Regions from separate parts of the Homo sapiens genome. Here region 2 is linked to region 1. The links are contacts of gene promoters, found by promoter capture Hi-C in human tissues and cell types (Jung and others, 2019). All regions are on one chromosome and are shown on one strand. Each heading gives the region's core, a stretch centred on a gene start or on the middle of the fragment in contact. The rest is flanking DNA. Distances are from core to core; before and after follow the strand shown. Region 1 holds the start of MED6 (mediator complex subunit 6). Region 2 overlaps SLC39A9 (solute carrier family 39 member 9).

Region 1 (4,582 bases), core at 734-3,233:
TTGACCAGGCTCTCTATCATCTGGCCCCTGCCTTCATTCCCAGTCTCTTTTCCCATCATTCATCCTTCACTCATACAACCCGGCTTACACTGGCCTTTCTGTGGTTCTCAGACCAACCCCTTTCCCACTGTAGGGTCCATGGTCCCCTCTGTCTGATATGCTTGTGCCCCAGCTCTTCACATGAGTGATTTGCTTTCATCTTCCAGGTCTCATCTCAGGTATCACTTCCTCAGAGAGGCCTGTCCTGACTGTCCTACCCAAAGTGGCTTCCTCCCTATCTTGTCTTCTCTTGTTTTTGTTACCACACTTTTTAATTTATATTTCTTTATTAACTGAAACAATTAATATAAAAGAAATAGAGATGGGATCTCGCTATCTTGACCAGGCTGGTCTCCAGCTCCTGGGCTCAAGCAATCCTCCCATCTTGGCCTCCCAAAGTGCTGGGATTACAGGCGTGAGCCACCTTGCCCTGTCTTCCTCAAGTTATCTTTCTAAAATGGAAGCTTGATCACATTTCTCCCATTGCCTACAAAATAAAGGTTGAGCTTCCAGGTCTTATTTACCATGCATACCATATGTTTTATTATCTACAGATCTGCATTCTGTCACTATTCTTCCTAATCTCCTTCTAGCCTAATCAAAACACAAGGAAACAAAAAACTAGAAAAACAAAACAAAAAGCTTTATGGATCACACTTTTTATTGGACACGATACTCTTCCTTTTTGCAATGTCCTCCCACTAGGCTCCCAACCAGGCCCTCCTGAAAAATTCTCTCTCAAAACTTTACTCTGTGCATGCACATACTTCTGTTGGGACACCTATTTTATACATACCATCTCAGGCAGAAAATTCCCAAACTGAAATGTACAGGCAACGTACTTTTATTCTACGGAGTTAACAAATTTTTAATTCCTTGTCTATGAGGTTGAAAATCCCAATTAAATTTCTGGTCTTCCCCTCTTGCTCCTGGGTTGTGGTTAAATTCTTGGGGAGTCTTCACAGTACCTAAGTTTTGGAGAAGATGTAGGCACCCGCCCTCATCCCTCCTTCAGATTTTGGCATCCTCTTCCTAGTATCTGTGTGTTGTTTGCATATTTCTGTATCGTTTTGCTTTTACAGAGCCACACTGAAGCTTGAGAATCTGAGGCTTTCTGTAGCTTCCCCGTACACAGAATCATTCCCTCTTTGGAGCCTTGCTACCTACTCCAGACTACTTGGAATGCAGACATTTGCTCATTACTCTGGGACCCAGGGGTATTCCCTTTCTCTTAATCTTATTAATATTTCACTTCAGAAGCATTTCCTGTGTTGTGAAATTTTTCTCAGAGGCTTCTTTAATTGGTTTAGATTTTTAATGGATTTAGTCACATAAAAGCCAATGACTCCCAAATTCTTAAGTCCTGTCCCATCCCAATACCTGAGGCAGGGAGAAAAATATAAATGACCATCGTTCCTAAATCTGATAGCTCAGTGGATACACCCGGGGAGCTTTTAAAATTAAGAGACACTCCCAAGCACAACTCTACAGCATCAGAATTTGTTTTCTTGACGATCACAGACGATCAAGGCAGAATTCTTCCATCAGTGGTGGGCGTGGGGCGGGACTCCACTCGGTCTTTCTGTCCTCTAAGTCTTCTAATTTTTTTCCCAGTAATCCGCCCTCCCGTTCTCCTTCTTTGGCCCATCCCTCTTCTAGTCTTTCCCTGCTCCCCTGCACCAATCTTTCTGCGTCCCGTCCCCTCCCATTCCCCTACCCCACCCCACCCCACCCCACCCCACGTTTCCCGCCTCCCGCGCCTCTCCCGCTTTCCGCCCCCTCGCGTCTCCTCCCCTCCCACCCGCACCTCCACCCCCTGCCTCTCTCCTGCCCGCCCCGCCCCCTCTTCCGCTCTACGTCCCTCCTCACCCATGCGCACTCTCTTCAACCCGCTGCTTCCGGCGGCCTAGGCTTACGTTTACTTTGCGCCGGAAAGAGAACCTGTAAACGCTCTCGGAATTATGGCGGCGGTGGATATCCGAGGTATACTGTATTGCTATATTTTGTCTCTTGATTGTCTGTGGACCAGTTTGGGATGTTATAGCTCGCGGTTTCAAGGTTTAGGTTCCTTTGTGTGAAGTCTCAAGCTTTTTTGAGTGGTTTTTGTGGACAACCCAAGGCTGTGATCTAGCGAAACGTTGACGAGTTTTTTTTTTTTTCTGAGTTCTTGGAGCGTCTCTTGGAAGCGTCGGAGAGAAGGGGTTGGAAGAAGCTCTGGGTTTTGAGCTTTCAGAGCTGGAGTTTTGTTCTACACACGTATCTCTGCAACAACATTAGGGCTATTCTATTGGAGTGAAGGAATGGCGTTTAGGCAGAGAAGGGAATGGGGTAATAAGCCAACTTGATTTGATTCATCTCTTGGGACTTGGCATGGTGGCTGCCTAATTCTTTAGACCGCGCCACACGGGTCCCTGAGCATGAATCCCAGATATTTTCTTTTTTTTTGAGTCGATAATACTTTACATCGAACGTCCAGCAATTATTATGGGCAGGGGTCGTATTTTTTTCACAGCTGAACTGCAGAAGTACTCAAATATTGAATCAGTCAGTGAATAAATGTATGGAGATGTCACCCCTTAACTGCTGCTTGATCTTGGGGAGCATGTAGAGTTGTTTTTGTGTATATAGTACTTGATTTTTAAAGGGAGATGTTTGAGATGCCTTTTTTTAATATTAACTGGATTGGGGTCTAACACATTTATTACAAATATTCTCATTTATACTTATCTGGCGATCTGCAGCACTTCTGGATCATGATTTTACATACGTGTCTTTCATTATTTATTTCATCACTTGCTGATGGTTAGAATGCTGTTAGAATGCTTGGGCTATGTCAACATGTTGCCTTGCTACAGAATAAAAAAGAGAAATATTTAGTTTATAAAATGTTTTACTTATAATTCAGATTGTTAGGATCATGGCAAAGACTCTAAAATAAGAGTGTGTTTGGTGTGTTAAAGGAACAGCAAGGAGGTCAGTGTGGCTGGAGGGTAGTGAGAGAGGATGTGGGAAGGAGATGAAGTCAGAAAGGTGTTGAAAGCTATGATAAGGTCTTTGGCTTTTCCTCTGAGTAAAACGCAGAGCCATTGGAGGGGTTTCCATCAGAGGAATGATGTGATCTGACTTTTTTTTAGGACTACATTGGCTGCTGGGAACAGTGTAGGAGGGCAAGGGTAGAATTAGGAAAACCAGTTAGGAGGCCATTTCTGAAAATGTTATTTCCTGGCCTGTTGTGTATTTGGTTATTGCATGATCCAGTTATGATGAACTATCTAAATGGTCTATACTAATTATTTGGTTATTAACGCACTTCATCTGTCTCCTCCTTTATTTTATAGCACACAAAGTACATTTTACCTTTATATAATTTTTCTCGGTTGAGTCACTTGGCTCAAAACTGCCTGTCACCTTGAATTAGGTCTGACTTCTTTGAAGATGCCTGAGGTAATGACAGTATAAGAGAGATTGAAGTTTTTCAACCAGTATTGTATAGGCATTTTGATGTTCATGATTTACACCTAGTGGTGTTCAGTACAGTCAGTGGTATGAAGCATCATGAAAGCCAATAGCCAATACAAGCTCATTTATTAAAAGTATCTAGCTCTATCATGTCTTTTTAAAAGCTATGATTTAATTCTACGCTAAATATGAAACCGTGTGGCTGTAGTTAAGGGAACTCTACTTCCTGTTTATCCCTTAGCTTTTACATCATTATCATCTCATCTACAATAATAGCTTCCTAACTTCTCTATCCCTAATTGAGAGATCTCAAACTGGTAGCTATAGATGTGTTCTCTTGGGCATACATGTTATTTGAAAATTTTGAATTCCTTGCCAGCATTAAGGATTTCCAATAAAAAAAAAAGTCCTTTCTAAATTTTAAATCTTATCACTTCTTCACCTAATGAAATTATTCTCTAAAGATATAATATACTTTATATTTTTACACCTCTGTATATACATTCTCTCTGCTTGGAATTACTTTGCCCTTTTCTCTGTGTAAGTTTTTATTTATTCTTTAACATACCGTGCTAAAACCCACCTTCTCTCCACATGAAAAATGATTTTCGTTTCCCCAGGTCCTCTGTAGTCTCGTAACACATTTCTTCATGTCTTTTTTTTTTGAGACGGAGTCTCGCTCTGTCGCCCAGGCTGGAGTGCAGTGGCGCGATCTCAGCTCACTGCAACCTCCGCCTCTTGGGTCCAAGTGATTCTCCTGCCACAGCCTCCCGAGTAGCTAGGATTACAGGTGTCCACCACCATGCCCGGCTAATTTTTTGTTTTGTTTTTTTTCTTTTTTTGAGACGGAGTTTCACTCTTGTTGCTCAGGCTGGAGTCCAATGGTGTGATCTCGTCTCACCACAATCTCCGAGACCTTCTGGGTGCAAGCGATTCTCCTGTCTCAGTCTCCCAAGTAGCTGGGATTATGGGCATGCACAAACACGCCAGGCTAATTTTGTATTTTTAGTAGAGACGGGGTTTCTCCATGTTGGTCAGGCTGGTCTCAAACTCCCAACCTCAGGTGATCCACCTACCTCAGCCC
Region 2 (4,582 bases), core at 648-3,147, 1.2 Mb after region 1:
AATTCTGGATCAACCCACAATTCACTAGGCACTTACCAAGTGCTTCATAATACTCTACCCTAGGGTCACATGAAAAACTACATTGAGATAAGTTTTAAAAGCAGGAAAAGAGTTCGAGACCAGCCTGGCCAGCATGGCGAAACCCTGTCTCTACTAAAAATACAAAACTTAGCCGAGTATGATGGTGCACAACTGTAGTCCCAGCTACTCAGGAGGCTGAGAGAGAATCGCTTGAACCTAGGAGGCGGAGGTTGCAGTGAGCTGAGACTGTGCCACTGCACTCCAGCCTGGGTGACAGAGCGATACCCTCTCTCAAAAAAAAAAAAAAAAAAGAATATGAAATATAAACAGGAGTTTGGTGCAAGTTTTTAGAAAGCCACAGTAAAGGTTTTTATTAATCTTTAGACCCATGTTTTAAAAATAGGGATATTAGCTACCAAAGTTATCAATTCAAATTAAAGAACTGGGAGAAAATATAAAAAATGATTTTCTCTCAATATATAGATGGAGAATCGAAGGCCAAAGATGAGAAGTGATTTGCCCAAGATCACATGACTAAGCTAGTTAGTGGTTACAGGGATGATTAGATTCAGCATTGCACTCCATGACAATGCTCACTGCATAGCATAATACATACAATCCATTATAAAAAAATTTATCTCCAAAAAAGATGATATTCATGCAACCTTTCAAAATAGTATGAATCAGCAAAATCCCTCAGCAACACCGAGAGAAAAAACAAAATCATAAATAGTTGTAATTCTTCTCTATTGACAGTTTCTAATGGTTCATGACAAAATAAAATAAGGACAATACAGTGAGCACATCATAAAGCTTTATTTCTTCAATATAAAGATCTATTTTTTATTCTGAGATTATATCCTACCTAATTTTGGTTATAATGTCCTTTCTTTTAAGAAATGATGGTGACAACAGTTTTTGTTTTTATTTTTAGTGTCCTTACATGGCAAAATTAAAAGGAGGTAATCCTGTATCGATTCTTTGAAAAAAAATTTTTTTTTTTTTTGAGACGGAGTCTCGCTCTGTTGCCCAGGCTGGAGTGCAGTGGCATGATCTTGGCTCACTGCAAGCTCCACCTCCCGGGTTCATGCCATTCTCCTGCCTCAGCCTCCCGAGTAGCTGGGACTACACGTGCCTGCCACCATGCCTGGCTTATTTTTTGTATTTTTAGTAGAGACAGGGTTTCACCATGTTAGCCAGGATGGTCTCGATCTCCTGACCTTGTGATCTGCCTGCCTCGGCCTCCCAAAGTGCTGGGATTACAGGCGTGAGCCACTGCGCCTGGCCGAGTCTTTGAAATTTTAAATATATGACTGATCTATGAAACCCAAAAGCTGGAAAACCCTGATCTAAGTGCAAACATGAAATTATAATGCCATCAAACATTCAGAAACAAAGAATTTGAGTTTGTAGGATGAGACCATCAAGGTAAATCTGAATGAATCATCTAGCTTTGCAGTATTTCCTTCGAAGAAAGGCAGCGTGAGGTAAAACTATTGTATTGTTTTCAGTTCACTTTGAAATTAAGTGCATTTATTTACCAAATGAAGTTAAATATCCACTCAACACTATGTTTACTGTTTGTCCCTGTAACCCCTTCCCCACAAAATTACCAATTCTGTCAGGGCAGAGATCTTTAATTTACTGCTGAATTCTCAATTTATAAGGAAGTATCTGGCACACAGCAGTTTCCCCTAAATATTTATTGAAAGAATGAATTAAATGCCCACCACCAAGCAAAGCACTGGGGACTTGGTACCGGCCACTGGGCTCTGATACAAACAATTACACAAATGTAGCGGAACCTCTTTAGAATATTTGTGCCAGGAAATAGACCTCATATATTCCTTGTAACTATATCAAGAATTTTCAGTGATTAGTTGATTCAGAATTGATAGTTTCACTCAAGGGGCATGCAGATACATTTATTTATTTATTTATTTATTTATTTATTTATTTATTTATTTATTTTTGAGATGGAGTCTTGCTCTGTCGCCCAGGCTGGAGTGCAGTGGCGTGATCTTGGCTCACTGCAAGCTCCGCCTCCCGGGTTCATGCCATTCTCCTGCCTCAGCCTCCTGAGCAGCTGGGACTATAGGCGCCCGCCACCATGCCCGGCTAATTTTTTGTATTTTTAGTAGAGATAGGATTTCACCGTGTTAGCCAGGATGGTCTCGATCTCCTGACCTCGTGATCCACCCGCCTCGGCCTCCCAAAGTGCTGGGATTACAGGCGTGAGTCACTGTGCCCAGCCGGCAAATACATTTAATAAAGGGCCATAGGCTGGGTGCGGTTGCTCATGCCTGTAATCCCAGCACTATGGGAGGTTGAGGCAGGCGGATCACGAGGTCAAGAGATCGAGATAATCCTAGCCAGCATGGTGAAACCCCATCTCTACTAAAAATACAAAAATGAGCTGGGCATGGTGGCATGTGCCTGTAGTCCCAGCTACTCGGGAGGCTGAGGCAGGAGAATCGCTTGAACCTGGGAGGCAGAGGTTGCAGTGAGCCGAGATCCCGCCACTGCACTCCAGCCTGGGCGACAGAGCGAGACTCCGTCTCAAAAAAAAAAAAAAAAAAATTCTTTACCTGATCATTTTAGACTCAATCTGATTTATTTTAAGCGCTAGAATTGTGGCTTCATGTATTTGTATGGCTGTATTCTTTCACACAACTTGGGATTCAATCTCAAGTTGTGTTTATATTAAAGTTAACAAAATGCTGACAGGTTCTTTCTTTTGCTTATGGTAAATCACTAAAAAGTTTATTTAAATGGAGAACTACAAATTCCAAGTGTCATTCAAGATCAAAAGACAGTTCCCAAACCAACAGTTTCTGTCAGTGAAATGAAGTATTTGCTCAGGAGAGGCATGAACTGTGCAATGCCATTGGTTTTATGTTATCTCATTTTAGAAGTTCACAGTTGCAGCCTGACTGAACCAAAGGATCTGCTAGATACATTAATTAAAACAACAGCTTGCACTCTATGCCGTTAACCATCAGCACAAGCTTTGAAGTCAGTTTAATATTTCTTGGCAGACACCAAGGTAATTAAATGGTCTTTCTTTCCCTGCTCACAGAAACAGTCAACAAATTGGTTCACCTAAAGACAAGCCAACAATTTTTAAAGTTTTTTTTTTTTTTTTTTTTTGAGATGGAATCTCACTCTATGACCCAGGCTGGAATGCAGTGGTGTGAACCTGGCTTACTGCGACCTCTACCTTCCAGGTTCAAGCGATTCTCCTGCCTTAGCCTCCTGAGTAGCTGGGATTACAGGCATGTGCCATCATGCCCAGCTAATTTTTGTATTTTTAGTAGAGACAGGGTTTCACCATGTTGACCAGGCAGGTCTCAAACTCCTGACCTCAAGTGATCCACCAGCCTTGGCCTCCCAAAGTACTGGGATTACAGGCATGAGCCACCGCATCCAGTCTTTAAAAGCTTTTGATACGGAAAACATTTTATCTCAATTTTCCTTGTGCCATGCCCATTTTAGTAGTCAAAGTGTCAACTACAGCTTCCTAAAAAAAAAAAAAAATCAAAGGTACATCTCTTATCATAAGATTGATCCCTTCAAAGTTTTAGGCACTGAAGAGATAAAATATCACAGGCTATGAAGTAACTCTTGTTCAGGCAACAAAGTTTTCCCCCATATTCTTACAAACAAACCTGCTTCAAGAAAGAGATATTTCTTAATGTCAATTTAGCCACTACATTATCTGCTGCTAAGTGTTAGTAACAGATAATAAAGAAAACTCAGATCTAATTTGGTTCTTCAAGTCCTTACAGCTGAAACAAGATGCCCAAAAGCTTCCTGGCTCTAAGGAGCAGCTGTGTGAAACAGGACAAGTCTTTAACCTTCCTGGGCTTCATGGCCTCCTCTGTAAGAAGGGGCTACTGCTACTAGTATTATTATTGTGTAGGAGCAGGATATATTAGTGCACTTAGCAGAGTAGGGGTTGTTATTACTTGTCTTCAACATCATCAGTAGCATGCAAAAAAAAGCTTCTAAGCACCTCCACTGCAAGAATAATGAAAGTTCCAGTGAACGAAGTTACAATTCTGCCATGTTGCCAGGGGCATATAAGCTTCCTATTTCCTAACTCATTTGACATCAAGGTTACTTAACACCTTCTAAGGCAGTAATAACAAGCAAGTACTTTATTAATGCCATTTCCTCCAATCTTGGAAAATAAGATTAATTTATTTTTCTTTTTGCATAAAATTCCTTTCTAAACATAAAAGAAATAAATATAAATCCCGTAAGATTGTTTGATGTAACTACAAAGCCAAAACAAACAAAAATCCATTGAAAAATAACCTGGAAAAGCATTGCCAACAAATATATCATTGATACATAAGAGTTCAACTGAACCGAGCAGACTAAAATAGTAAATATACCTTTTCCTCTATGAAATTGGTACAGTTTTAAAAATGAATAATGATAATGTTTGTGAGAATATAGCGTTATTTGCATTTGTTGTAAAAATGCATTTTAAAAAACTGGTAATATAGATTGAGAACCTTCTGAAGAACATTCATGCCCTTTATCCCCATCATTC

The links. Contacts are between HindIII fragments. The study calls those that stand out against the background at their distance.
Region 2: a fragment that was not itself captured here is called in contact with the fragment with the promoter of MED6 in region 1 in 1 of the 25 tissues and cell types used here (aorta).

The regions. Positions count from the first base shown.
Region 1 is chr14:70,598,056-70,602,637 of GRCh38, reverse strand. MED6 (mediator complex subunit 6) reads left to right here and starts at 1,983. Exons shown (of 8, transcript NM_005466.4): 1 at 1,983-2,022. The coding sequence starts at 2,001. RefSeq lists an enhancer at 1,282-2,481. The HindIII fragment of the contact is 4,302 bases long and covers 909-4,582 here.
Region 2 is chr14:69,409,801-69,414,382 of GRCh38, reverse strand. All of the region lies in intron 1 of SLC39A9 (solute carrier family 39 member 9), which reads right to left. Among named protein-coding and RNA genes, the nearest start is that of SLC39A9, 13 kb to the right of the region's middle. The HindIII fragment of the contact is 3,498 bases long and covers 149-3,646 here.